2 separate regions of the Homo sapiens genome follow, and region 1 is linked to region 2. Evidence: promoter capture Hi-C in human tissues and cell types (Jung and others, 2019). All regions are on one chromosome and are shown on one strand. The core of a region is centred on a gene start or on the middle of the fragment in contact, and the rest is flanking DNA. Distances in the headings are between cores, read along the strand shown. Region 1 holds the start of CCDC124 (coiled-coil domain containing 124). Region 2 holds the start of SMIM7 (small integral membrane protein 7).

Evidence for each region. The method cuts DNA at HindIII sites, captures the fragments that hold promoters and counts their contacts. A contact is called where the count stands out against the background at its distance.
Region 1: a contact is called between the fragment with the promoter of CCDC124 here and the fragment with the promoter of SMIM7 in region 2, in 1 of the 25 tissues and cell types used here (dorsolateral prefrontal cortex).

Annotation. Positions count from the first base shown.
Region 1 is chr19:17,928,462-17,935,524 of GRCh38, forward strand. It overlaps CCDC124 (coiled-coil domain containing 124), which reads left to right and starts at 4,554. Exons shown (of 5, transcript NM_001136203.2): 1 at 4,554-4,587. RefSeq lists enhancers at 674-773, 1,404-1,473, 3,632-4,170, 4,317-4,376, 4,397-4,586 and a silencer at 4,667-4,716. The HindIII fragment of the contact is 29,527 bases long and covers 1-7,063 here.
Region 2 is chr19:16,654,832-16,661,393 of GRCh38, forward strand. SMIM7 (small integral membrane protein 7) reads right to left here and starts at 5,313. Exons shown (of 5, transcript NM_024104.4): 1 at 5,254-5,313; 2 at 5,128-5,169; 3 at 4,564-4,616. The coding sequence starts at 5,279. It overlaps TMEM38A (transmembrane protein 38A), which reads left to right and starts at 6,308. Exons shown (of 6, transcript NM_024074.4): 1 at 6,308-6,510. The coding sequence starts at 6,387. RefSeq lists silencers at 5,906-6,105, 6,126-6,375. The HindIII fragment of the contact is 23,986 bases long and covers 1-6,562 here.

The DNA of each region.
Region 1 (7,063 bases), core at 3,304-5,803, 1.3 Mb after region 2:
CTGTCTCTACAAAAAGTAGAAAAATTGGCTGGGTGCGGTGGCTCACACCTGTAATCCCAGCACTTTGGGAGGCCGAGATGGGCGGATCACAAGGTTGAGAGATCAAGACCATCCTGGCCAACATGGTGAAACGCTGTCTCTACTAAAAATACAAAAATTAGCTGGGCTTTGTGGTGAGGCCTGTAGTCCCAGCTACTTGGGAGGCTGAGGCAGGAGGATCACTTGAGCCCAGGAGGTCGAGGCTGCAGTGAGCCAAGATTGCACCACTCCACTTTTACCTGGGCAACAAAGTGAGACCTTGATTTTAGACTTGAAGCCTCCAGGACTATGAGAGAATTGATTTGCATTGTTTCCTTTTTTTTTTTTGAGACAGAGTCTTGCTCTGTCTCCCAGGCTGCGGTGCAGTGGCACTATCTCGGCTCACTGCAACCTCTGCCCCCCAGGTTCAAGAGATTCTTCTGCCTCAGCCTCCTGAGTAGCTGGGATTACAGGCGTACACCACCATGTCCGGCTAATTTTTGTATTTTTAGTAGAGACGGGGTTTCACCATGTTGGTCAGGCTGGTCTCGATCTCCTGATCTCAGGAGATCCACCTGCCTTGGCCTTCCAAAGTGCTGGGATTACAGGCATGAGCCACCACGCTCAGCCAATTTCTGTTGTTTTCAAAACCACTAGTTTGTGGTCATTTGCTACTGTAGCCACCAGAAACTCATACAGCCCTGTACAAGAGACAGTCCACAGGAGGAGGTGTCGAGAGAGAAAACAATTTCACCAAGGAACAGAGTGGCTGATCAGAAAACCAAAAAGCCGTGGAGAAACTCATTCCTAGAATAGTAAACGAAATTAACCCTACACAGAAGGGCCCTAATGAGATCATAACTGAAGCTCCAGTCAGCATTAACTTACCTTCCAGCCACAGGCAGAATCACCTTAAGCAGATAGAGACACAAGGGTCTCAGATGTGCACACTATTTTTTTTTTTTTTGAGACAGAGTCTTGCTCTGTCACCCAGGCTGGAGTTCAGTGGTGCAGTCTCAGCTCACTGCAATCTCTGCCTCCCGGGTTCAAGCGATCCTCCTGCCTCAGCCTCCTGAGTAGCTGGGATTACAGGCACACACCACCATGCCCAGCTACTTTTTGTATTTTTGGTAGAGACGGGGTTTCACCCTGTTGGCCAGGCTGGTCTTCAACTCCTGACCTCAGATGATCTGCCTTCCTTGGCCTCCCCAAGTGCTGGGATTACAGGCGTGAGCCACCGTGCCTGACCTCAGATGGGTGCACTTTTGCTGAGTCCAGGGTACTGATTGGTGGCAGGGAAGGTCTCAGCCCAGTCTCAGTAGGACATCCAGTCCTGTTGATGTCAAATACCACCAGAAAAACAGCTGCAGTGAAACCCAGCTGGGTTTATGGATTAATGCATTGAAGGAAGACACACCAGAAGGGGTTCTGTTTATCTCAGAAAGAGAAAGTGAGAAGGAGCGTGTTACAGAACTAGGGCAACTGTGGGGTGATTCGAGGAGAGTTCAAGGGAGTGGGATTCTGCCCTGGATTGTATGCAAACAGCTAGTGGGACAATTCTCTAAGTATTTTAATAATCTCTTTTTTTTTTTTTGAGATGGAGTCTTGCTCTGTCCCCCAGGCTGGAGTACAGTGGTGTGTTCTCCGCTCACTGCAAGCTCTGCCTCCCGGGTTCACGCCATTCTCCTGCCTCAGCCTCCTGAGCAGCTGGGACTACAGGCGCCCACCACCACACCCGGCTAATTTTTTGTATTTTTAGTAGAGATGGGGTTTCACCGTGTTAGCCAGGATGGTCTCGATCTCCTGACCTCGTGATCTGCCTGCCTTGGCCTCCCAAAGTGCTGGGATTACAGGCGTGAGCCACCGCGCCCGGCCTTTAATAATCTTTTTACCTAGAAGGCGGGGGAACCTGCTGGGAATTGGCGAAAACTAGCAGTCACGCCCTTTGGCCAGGAGATGGGGAGGTTTGGCCATTTTTGTGGTTTGGACAATGCTCTTGTATTCACCTGTGCTAAGACTCGATTACGGAAGGGTTTTGTTTTTCTGCGGCCAAGTGTGACTGGTCTGAGTGTCCCTGTCTGATGTGGACATTCCGTGAAATTGGTTTGGTCAATCAAAAAACTCTACAGTTTAGCTGTGACTGCCAGGCCAACTGCTAGCTGACTGTGTGTGGTCCAGGGCTACTTTTATCTTCCTCACTTTATATTCACCTCCTCACCTTTGCATATACTGTTCCCTCTGCCCAGAACACCTTTCCCTCTCTTTTTCACTCAGCTCTTTCCTTCTCAAGCTTCAGAGCTCTCCTTAAATGCCACCACCTCTGAGAAGCCCTCTTTGATCACCCAGGCTGTGGGCCTCCACAACCCTATTTCAACCCCAGGCACATCTTTTAGTCACAATTACGATTATTATTTTATTGTTATTATTATTATTATTACTTTTGAGACAGAGTCTTACTCTGTCACCCAGGCTGCAGTGCAGTGGCGTGATCTCAGCTCACTGCAACCTCTGCCTCCCAGGTTCAAGCGATTCTCCTGCCTCAGCCTCCCAAGTAGCTGGGATTACAGGCGCATGCCACCACGCCTGGGTAATTTTTAGATGGGGTTTCACCATGTTAGCCAGGCTGGTCTTGAACTACTCACCAAGTGATCTGCCCGCCTCAGTCTCCTGAAGTGCTGGGATTACAGCTATAAGCCACCACGCCTGGCCTTTATTATTATTATTTATTTATTTATTTTGAGATGGAGTTGCACTCTGTAGCCCAGGCTGGAGTGCAATGGCACGATCTCGGCTCATTGCAATCTCTGCCTCCTGGGGTCAAGTGATTCTCCTGCCTCAGCCTCCCAAGTAGCTGGGATTACAGGCATGTGCCACCACGCCCAGCTAATTTTTGTGTTTTTAGTAGAAACAGGGTTTCACCATGTTGGTCAGACTGGTCTCAAACTCCTGACCTCAGGTGATCTGCCTGGCTCGGCCTCCCAAAGTGCTAGGATTACAGGCGTGAGCCACCATGCCTGGCCTTTATTAGTATTTTTTAAGAGAGGTTCCTTCACCCAGGCTGGCTGGAGTGCAGTGGCGCTATCATACCTCACTGCACCCTCCAACTTCTGGGCTCAAGTGATTCTCTTGAATGGGAGGATGAGCATGCCACCACGCCCAGCTAATGTTTTTATCTTCTGTCGAGATGGGGTCTCATAATGTTGCCCAGGCTGCTTTCAAACACCTGGCCTCAAGCGATCCTCCCACCTTAGCCTTCCAAAGGGTTGGGATCACAGGCATGTGCCACTGCGACCAGCCAGGATAATAATCTTTCATGTGATTTTCCGACTTTAAGCCCCCTGCACCCAGAGACCTTTCTGTCTCATGCCTGAAGGGAAGGAACTGGCCACGGAAAAACCTGGGAAATTCCTGGGGGAACTCCCTGAGGCAAGACTGCGCCTGGCAATTTGTAAGAAGGGGGCTGGTGCGACCTGAGCAGAGAGCTAATGGGAGGGTGAGGGAAGCCAAGGGAGATGGGGTGGGAGGTGGGAGGAGTCTTGCGGGACAATGGGAACCCAGGGGAGGCGTTAGAGCAGGGGAGGTGCATCGCGCACTGGGATTTAGGTCCCAGCAAGGTCGCTGGGGGGATGCCTTTTAGGGAATGGACTCTGTGGTCAACTACTCCTACCTGAACTGCCCCCAAAGCATTTGCTTTTCCCTCTCCACAGTCAGGACCAGTGTAACCTTAGACCCCTAATACTGCCATTTTTACTGTTGAGAACACCGAGAAGTAGTAAATGCAGAAAATCTAAAGTATAGTGCCTAAGACAAATTGGCGCCTCAAACCTAATTTCTAAATAAAATTAATAAATAATATTGCAGAAGTGGGGAGCAGGTCAGCAATCCAGGAAGAGGCACTGGCAGGAGCAAGAGACGGAATTTGAGCCTACTCGCGGTTATGAGCCTACTCGCGGTTACATTTTGGCCAAACTCAATTCCTGGTCTCTCTGAGCCTCGGTTTCCCTACCTGGACTGCGCGGTGTGTGTTAATTTCTCTGCCCCATTTATCTCCCCTCTCCTAGCCCCGCCCCAGCGTCACCAGTGGGACGCAGAGACTCAGGACTAGGAAAGCACTTTTAAAGCGTTAAGGGATTGCGAAGAGCTACGGAGAGGCTTCCTCAGGGCTATACTGGGTCCACCTCCCCTCATGGACCGCGGGCGCGCTCTGGCGGCCGGGCCGCTCCAGGCTGAAGCCGCCGGACCACGTGTGTAGTCGCAGCTGCCATCTTTCATCCGGGCATCGGCCATCTTGGTAAAGGCAATGTTCTAGATTTTCGCCTCTGCCCGCCCCTCCTGGTTCATCAACATATTAAATGAGCGTAGGGAATGAGGGCGTATTAAGTGTCCTCTTTTTGAAGAGACAAAGAAGTGGCTGACTACCCTGGCTTGGGTCCGAGGCCCAGCCATCTTTTTCTTTACCAAAATGGCGGCGGTACTGAGGCGCAATGAGTGCGCGCCGCCAGGAGCTCAGCGCGCAGGCCCCATGATGACGTCACGGAGGCGCGACCGGGCCGGCGCTGGGGTAAGAAGGTAGGAGCGTCTGCGGCGCGGGCGGAACCCGGGTTCGGGGAGCAGAGGCGCGGGGCGGGGGCTGCTTGGCCTGGGACCATCCCCTGGGAAGGCTGGAGGAGGGGTGCTGGGAGGCAGGAGCACTTCTGGCGTCCAGTCTGAACCGCACCTAGTTGGGGGCGATGCCCATTTCCAGACTAGACGATTGAAGCCCGACGCGACAGCATGTTCGAGGCCACCTGGCCCCGGACTGCCCCTAGGCAGCTTCTGGTCTCGAGAGGGACAGAGTTGGGCGCGGACTCCCCCGGCCTCTTGTAGGGGGATTAGTGGTGGGGGACTTCAAAAGGGATAGCCGGGAGGGCTGCTTAGAGGAGGCATTGTTGAATTTTGTATTCTGTTATTTTACCTTCACATCCGTGGGGTCTTAATCCCCATGGGTCTTGATTCGCTTCTAAGTGTGCCCCTCGCCCAGCCTGAGCCACTCCCTGGGTACCGCCTGGGCTCCCAGCTCCTGCCATCTGGGGAGTCCACCTCCTCACTAACCCCAGAGGGCTTGTGTGACCCATAGATTGGGCTTCCCGGCTCTAACGCCCTCCACACCTTCCCATCTCCCTGGAATACAAATCGCCCCCTTTTCCAGCCTACCTCCTGCATCCCGCGTGCAGGCTGCGCTCTCCCCCACTCATTCAGACTTTTCCTTAGATGTCTCCTTTAGGAAGCCCTTTGACCCAGGCTGGGTCAGAAGCCCTCTCCGGGCTTCCCCGGCGCCCTGCGTGTCCTTATTAGGACTCTGATTGCATGTGTTGGCTCTTCTCTGGGAGTCCCATGCAGGCAGAAAGCTCATTTGTGCCACCTCTTTCCCCAGCATCGCACACGTATTAGGTGCCCAGTACATATTTATTGAATGACGTGTGCAAGTGAGTGAGTGTTTACTACACAGAGAAAAGTGTCTGTATTTCCAGCTTGGGCTGTCATAACTAATACCACAGACTGGGTGGCTTAAACAGCAGAAATTGCCAGGCACTGTGGCTCACACCTGTAATCCAGGCACTTTGAGAGGCCGAGGCAAGCGGATCACTTGAGGTCAAGAGTTTGAGACCAGCCTGGCCAACATAGTGAAACCCCGTCTCTACTAAAAATACAAAAATCAGATAGGCATGGTGGCACATGCCAACATGGTGAAACCCCATCTCTATAAAAATACAAAAATTAGCCGGGCGTGGTGGCAGGTGCCTGTAATCCTAGCTGCTTGGGAGGCTGAAACAGGAGAATTGCTTGAACCGGGTGGGTGGAGGTTGCAGTGAGCCGAGATTGTGCCACTGCATTCCAGCCTGGGTGAAAGAGCAAAACTCCGTCTCAAAACAAAAAAAAGCCCCAACGTGGAAACAGCCCAAATGTCTAGCTGTGGACAATGGATAAACAAAATGTGGCGTATCCATGCAGTGGAGGAATATTCAGCCATAAAAAGGAACGAAGGGCCAGGCGCAGTGGCTCAGGCCTGTAATCCCAGCACTTTGGAAGGCCGAGGCGGGAGGATCACTTGAGCCCAGGAGTTCAAGGCCAGCCTGGGCAACATAGTCAGACCCTGCCTTAAAAAAAAAAAAAAAAAGCTAGGCATGGTGGCCTGCACCTATAGTCCCAGCTACTTAGGAGGCTCAGGTGGGAGGATCACTTGAGCCCAGGAGGTCAAGGCTGCAGTAAGCCGAGATTTCGCCACTGCACTCCAGCCTGGGCGACAGAGTGAGACCCTGTCTCCAAAATAAATAAATAAATGTACTCTCACACTGTGTGGCCTTTTGTGTCTGGCTTCTTTCACTTAGTATTGTGTTGTTGAGGTTCAACCACATTGTATCATGTATGTATTGGTGCCTTGTTTCCTTGTTTCCTTTTTTTTTTTTTCTTTTAAGAGACAGGGTCTTGTTCTGTTGCCCAGGCTGGAGTGCAGTGGCACAATCATAGCTCACTGTGGCCTCAGCCTCCTACGCTCAGGCGATCCTTCCACCTCAGCCTCCTAAGTAGCTGGAACTACAGGCACAAGCCACTGTGCCTAATTATTTTTTATTTTGTAGAGACGGACTCTTGCTATGTTGCCCAGGCTGGTCTTGAACTCCTGGCCTCAAGCAATCCTCCTGCCTCAGCCTCCCAAAGCACGGGGATTACAAACGTGAGTGATCGCACCCGGCCTGTGATTCCATTGATATGGACTGAAATGTCCAGAACAGGGAAAGCCACAGAGACAGAAAGCAGATTGATGGTTACCAGGGGCTAGGGGAAGAGGAATAGGGAGTGACTGCTGATGGTGATGTGGCCTCTTTTGGGGGGTGCAAGTGTTCTGGAACTAGACAGAGGTGGTATTTGCACAACGCTGTGAATATACTTAAACACTGAATTGTACACCTTTTTTTTTTTTTGAGATGGAGTCTCGCTCTGTCGCCTAGGCTGGAGTGCAGTGGTGTGATCTCAGCTCATTGCAACCTCCGCCTCCCGGGTTCAAGTG
Region 2 (6,562 bases), core at 4,063-6,562:
AACAGCAGAGCTGAGTCACATTGTTGTGCCAGACAGACACCATATGGCCCGCAAAGCCCTCAGATATTTACTATGTGGCCCTCTACAGAAAAACATGCCAACCCCTGCTCTGGGGTCATCTTTGCCAACCCTAACCAGTCTCACAGTAAAACCAACATAAAAGAAAGGGGAATTGAGAGCTGCAGAGAGTCAGATACTGACTCTAACCCTAACCCTAACCCCAACTCCAACCCCAACCCTAATCTTGAAGGACTGGTTTGACACCTAAACCCAGGGTGCCTGAAAACAATTCTGTTGGATGTTTCAATTTGCTTTAACCACTTTGAGCTGGGTTTGCAGTGTTTGTAACTGAAAGCATCCTAATTCAGGCAAGTGAAAGGGAAGGTGTTTCTTGGTGATGACTTACTCTGGTCCCCTTGAATGCCAAGGAACAGAAACCCCTCCGAGGGAAGGCAATTTAGTACGTGAAGACTCCAGAGACCTGGGTTCTAGACCCTTCTTCCAGGGTTTCCAGTCAATCACTCTCCCTCTCAAGCCCTCCAGAATGAAAAGAATGGGTCCAGATTAGGCCAGGCATGGTGGCTCACACTTGTAATCCCAGCACTTCAGGAGGCCGAGGCAGGCAGATTACCTGAGGTCGGGAGTTCGAGACCAGCCTGGCCAACATGGTGAAACCACGTCTCTACTAAAAATACAAAAGTTAGCCGGGTGTGGTGGTGCATGACTGTAATCCCAGCTACTCAGGAGGCTGAGGCAGGAGAATCACTTGAACCTGGGAGGCAGAGATTGCAGTGAGCTGAGATGGTGTCACTGCACTCCAGCCTGGGTGACACAGCAAGACTCCATCTCAAAAAAAAAAAAAAAAAAAAAAAAAGAATGGCTCCAGATTAGGTGATCTACAAGGGTGCTACCCGAAGTATCTGCAGACTGGGGCTGCATGGTAAGTACAGCATACACAACACAAGCCCAGAAATTTCTACTTTTTCAGGGATGACAACCTGACATCCCTGCTCCATCCGAGCTTGTGCTGAACACACCATCTTGCTGAAAACGGTTTAGACGAGCCTAGTATTATCTAGCCGACAGGATTAGTCACGTGCAGCACAACCTGTATACAGGGCTGATCCAGCACAGACTAGAAACATTAAATGCTTGGTCTGTTTCCAGGAAGTTTTGAGAGGCGCTGCTCAGCAAGACCCTTCCCCTAGCGAAGGATCGTGAAAACAGGACCTCCCACCATCAACAGATGCCAATCAAACGTTACTCATTCCAGGCCGGGTGCAGTGGCTCACAACTGTAATCCCAGCACTTTGGGAGGCCGAGGCAGGTGGATCACCTGAGGTCGCGAGTTTGAGATCAGCCTGGCTAACATCGTGAAACCACGTTTCTATTAAAACTACAAAACAATTAGCAGGGCGTGGTGGCGCGTGCCTGTAATCCCAAATCCTCGGGAGGCTGAGGCACGAAAATCACTTGAACCCAGGAGGTGGAGGCTGCAGTGAGCTGAGATCACGCCACTGCACGCCTGGGCAACAGAGTGAGACTCTGTCTCAAAAAATAAAAAAAGGTTACTCATTCCAGGCAACAGCAGTATACAGGGGATACAGAAAGAAACAAAGACCGGTGGCTCTGCCCCAACAAGCATATGGGGAGGAGAAATACTAAACAAATATTCACATGTGACTGCTCTGGTGGGAAAGTTTGGGTGTCCTGGGAATACACACTGCAGAGACCCAACATGGCATGTGCATGGGGAAGGGTGGGAGGTAAAAAAAAAGCCTTTCCAGCCGGGTGCCGTCGCTCAAGTCTGTAATCCCAGCACTTTGGGAGGCCAAGGAGGGCAGATCACCTGATGTCAGGAGTTCGAGACCAGCCTGGCCAACATGGCGAAACCCCATCTCTACTAAAAATACAAAAATTAGCTGGGCATGGTGGTGGGTGCCTGTAATCCCAGCTAATAGGGAAGCTGAGGCAGGAGAATTGCTTGAACCCAGGAAGCGGAGATTGCAGGGAGCTGAGATGGTGCCACTGCACTCCAGCCTGGGCAACAGAGAGAGGCTCCATCTCAAAAAAAAAAACAACAAAAAAACAAAAAACAGGCTTTCTGAGGAAGTGCCAGAGCTCCAAGTTCTGACCTCAAACATGGGCAGTTTAACAAATGTGAGCTCAAATCCTGCCTCTGTCCTTCTGCACAGGTGACCTGGTGACCTGGGACCATCCCTGCACTATCTATGTGCATTCCCTCTTGTGTCAATAGGGGTGTCAGGCAGCTAGGAAGACCTTAGCACACTGCCTGGCACGCATGACGCTCTCAACAAATGCAGCCACTATGGTATTACAGTTAAGCCAGGCAAAGAGGATGGAGGGCAAAGAGCAGCTCCCACAGGGGAAGCAGCAGGTGCAGCACCTGGGCTGGAAGGAGACTGGACACAGCAAAGCAGGAAGCTCCTGACAGAGCACTGGTGCCCTGCCTGGCATCCCTGTCACTGATGCTCCTGCCACTTTGTGCCAAATCTCCCGCCCACTGGAGCTCTGATTCGGATCTGTACAGTGCAACTCTAGGGCCTGGTAGTGCCTTCCACGTGGGGGTTAAGTAACACATGGCTGCTGAGTCAATGTATGAATGGATGGATCAATGGATAGACGGACAGATGGTCTAGTGATTGAGTGCACAACCGCTAGAGTCAGAAAAACCCAGGTTCTAATCCTGATTCTCATTGATTCCCTATGTGGCCACAAAAAAGTTGAGCCACATCTCTGACCCTCAGTTTCCTGATCTGTAAAATGGGAAAGTGACCATTATCTTTTAAGAATGGAGGGAGAATGCAACACTAACAGGAAGCACCTAACTGGGTCAGCACCCAAGGGCAGGCCCCCAAAAAGGGGAGCTGCTGGAGTGTCTTCAAAATCTCAGCTCGGCCAGGCGTGGTAGCTCATGCCTGTGATCCCAGCACTTTGGGAGGCTGAGGTGGGAGGATCGTTTGAGACCAAGAGTTGGACACCAGCCTGGTTAACACAGCGAGATACCTATCTCTACAAAAAACATTTAGAAAATTAGCCAGGCGTGGTAGTAAGTGCCTGTAGTCCCAGCTACTTGGGAGCCTGAGGCAAGAGGATCTCTTGAACCCAGGAGCTCAAGGCTGCAGTGAGCTATGACTGTGCCGCTGCACTCCAGCCTGGGCAACAGAGCAAGACCCTGTCTCTAAAAGAAGAAAACCTCTGTTCCTCAGGGTTCCCCCATCCTTGGGCAGTGCTCCATCATGGCATCCACCGCCTTGACTGTGACGCCGCCTCCTCAAATGGCCTTCCCTTCCACACCCCAGCAGGAGGGCAACCCCATCACCATCCTGTGACTCCCTGCCTCTGTCACCTAACGTCACCTCTGTCACTATCTATTCCCTGCTTAGAAACCATGTGTCCCACCCCATGGTAAGTTCCACTCTATCTGTCTTACCCCTGCTGTACCCCAGCACCTAGCACAGTAGCCAGCATGCGTTAGGTACTCAAATATCTGGTGAATGAAAGAATTAATGAATGGATACAATAGTCATGTACAGATCCCCTTAAGACTCCAAATAGTTACACAATCAAATTCAGCAGGAAGTGTAAATTCTGGGGCCTCCAGGGCCCAGGCAGATGATAGACATATGAAGGGGTTAGGGCTGGGATGAGGCAGAGTCTACAGGCCCCACCTCCTCAGAGTCCTTCTCAACTACACTCAATAGATGCAAACAGCTCTCCTGAATCTTGAGTTGCAGAATGTTCCAATTTTTCAAGAAAAATCAGACATCTTAATTTTTATATAAAATCTCCTGATTAAAAATCTAATGTTGGCATCTAATTTTAAAAGTGGCAGGTCTGCAGCACTCTGAAAGCAACAGCTATGTGTGAGGTTGTTCATTCATTCATTCACAGGCATCGGAGGACGGGTACGGCAAGAACAAAGGATGGGACAAGCCAAGCTAGGGCCTCTTCTCTGAAGTTTACAGTCATATGTGAGGGGCAGACATTAGCCAGATGACAGCAAACATAACAGAACATTATAACGGTAGGAAGTGATGTGAGTGCTCACATCAGGGAGGTCTGGTAGGAGAAAGAAATAGATGACAGAGGTAGGCAGAAAGGCTAGCACATTCTCAGTCATCTCCCACTCACACACACGCTCAATTAAAGAGAAAACTTGTGGCTCACGCCTGTAATCCCAGCTCTTCGGGAGGCCAAGGCAGGGATCACTTGAACCCAGGAGTTCGAGACCGGCCTGGGCAACGTGGAGAAACCCCATCTCTACAAAAAATACAAAATTTAGCCTGGCATGGTGGCACACACCTGTAATCCCAGCTACTAAGGGGGCTGAGGTGGAAGGATCACTTTAGCTCAGGAGGTCGAGTCTGCAGTGAGCCATGATCGCACCACTGCACTCCAACCTGGACAACAGAGCAAGACCTTGTGTCAAAAAAAAAAAAAAAAAAAAAAGAGAAAGAAAGAAAACGAAGGTAGGGCTTGGCGAAACAGAACTGTCCTCTGAAGTGGACCATGCAATTCCAGGATCCAATTAGACCTTACCTGTGCTGGGCTCCCTGGACTCCTCCCCAAAGCCCTGCGTGTCCTTCTTTTTCCTACAAAGAGGAGCAGACAGTGTCCACTTTCAATGGGACATAGAGTCCTCAGCCCCCTGACCCCCAGCTCAGAAGGCCACAAACACTAAGTTTCAGCCCTGGCCCTGCCGCAAACTTGCTGTGTGACCTCTGACGTTCAATACCCTTCTCTGGGCCCCCACTGCCCGGACAATCACAGCCAGGTCAGCAGCCACCGACCGTTTACAAAGTGGCCCGACAGTGCGGGTGCAGGGCGGAAGGTCCGCGGTGGGGCTATTTCTTGGGGGATGGGGCTTAAGCTCTCCAGGAAGGTGAACAGAGGGACAACCAAGGAACGGAGAGTATGGGTTTAAGGTCTCTCGGGGGGTGGGGGGCGAGGAAGATAAACCAGGCTGGAGGCGTGCCCAGAGGGCGGATAGGGCGGGGCCTGCGGCTTGGGGGCGGGGCCTGAGAAGTGCGCCGAGATCACGCTTATGAGGGCGGGGCTACGGGTTCCCCGGATGGAGCCGCAGTCCGGCCGCGACCTACTCACAGCTTAAAGTTCAGCACCGCCCCGGCATTCATCAGCAACGTCCTGCAGAGGGAGAATTACAGTTACTAGGGGCGCCCCCGCGTCCTGCCTGGCTCTCTCTTCCCAGCCTCTGGTCCCCCTAATTACCCGAACAGCAGGATGTCTCCGATCATCGTTACGGCCGAAGCGTCCGTCAGAACCGGAAGCGGAAGCCCCAGGGAGGGAGGGGAGAGGAGCACAAGCCGACCAATCCTAAAGCAACAGTGGCGAGGGCTGGGCCAATCGAAGGTCAAGGCTGGGAGGGTCCCGCCCTCTGCAGGCCAGACCCCCTTAGGGGAGCGCGAGCGCCCCACCTCGCTGGGGAGGCCCCGAGAGCCAGAATGGGAGGAGCGGGGTCTCCTGGGGGCGGGATTGGGTCACGCGTTCGAAGCGTGCCGCGCATGCGTGAGGTCTCGATGCCGTAGGGTTAGCTGGGCAGCAATTCCTACTCACTTTCTGGGGTCCCAAATTGGGCTTCTGGACAAAAGGAATCCTTTGACTCCTGAGCTGCACAGGGTGCGGGGTCCTGACGCAGTGGGGTCCCTAGAAACGGGTGCCCCAACCAACTGGGCTCTAAAATGAGATCCTCCTGGGCCCCATGGGGAACGGGGGTTCCCACTGAGCTGCCCCCCACAAGACGTCCTGATTTGCAGAGCCCCACCGGAGACGGGGTTCCTGATCGAACGGACCCTATGGGGCAGAAAAGTCTTGACGGGGCTCCACAGAGGACCGAGGTCCTAACCTATCTCCACGGGGAACAGGGGTTCTGATTCATGGGGTCCCACCATGGCGTAGGGGTCCTCACTGGGCTCCACCGAAGATCGGGGTCCTAATTGAGCCCACGGGGACAAAGTCCTGGCCGATCCGGCCCCCTGGGAACGGGCGTCCCGCGTGGGTGGGCTCCGTGAGGGACGGGCCCCCAGAACAGGCAGCTCCCCAGCCTCCCTCGCCTTGCACGGGTGCCCCGCACCCCGCCTCGCTGGGCGGAACGGGGTAGCGATGGCAGGAGGGTCAACGCCTGGGACGCCCGACCGTCCAGCTGCGTCCGTGGTGCTGGGCGTCCCCACCACCTGTCCCGGGGTGGGCCGTCGCCCCTCCTCTCCCGCGGGGGCCGGGCCTGGGGTGGCGCCTGGCGGGCGGGGGCGGGCCCAGCTGCGGGGGCGCAGTCGCCGGGCCGCGGGCGGCGGGACGGACGAGGCCGGGGCCCCGGGTGGCACCCGGCAGGCGGGCAGGCGGGCGCCATGGAGCTGCTCTCGGCGCTGAGCCTGGGCGAACTGGCGCTCAGCTTCTCGCGGGTGCCGCTCTTCCCCGTCTTCGACCTCAGTTACTTCATCGTCTCCATCCTCTACCTCAAGTATGAGCCAGGTGAGCCGGGGCGGGGGGCTGGAGGGGACCGGCAGCGGGTGGCGCGGGCCGG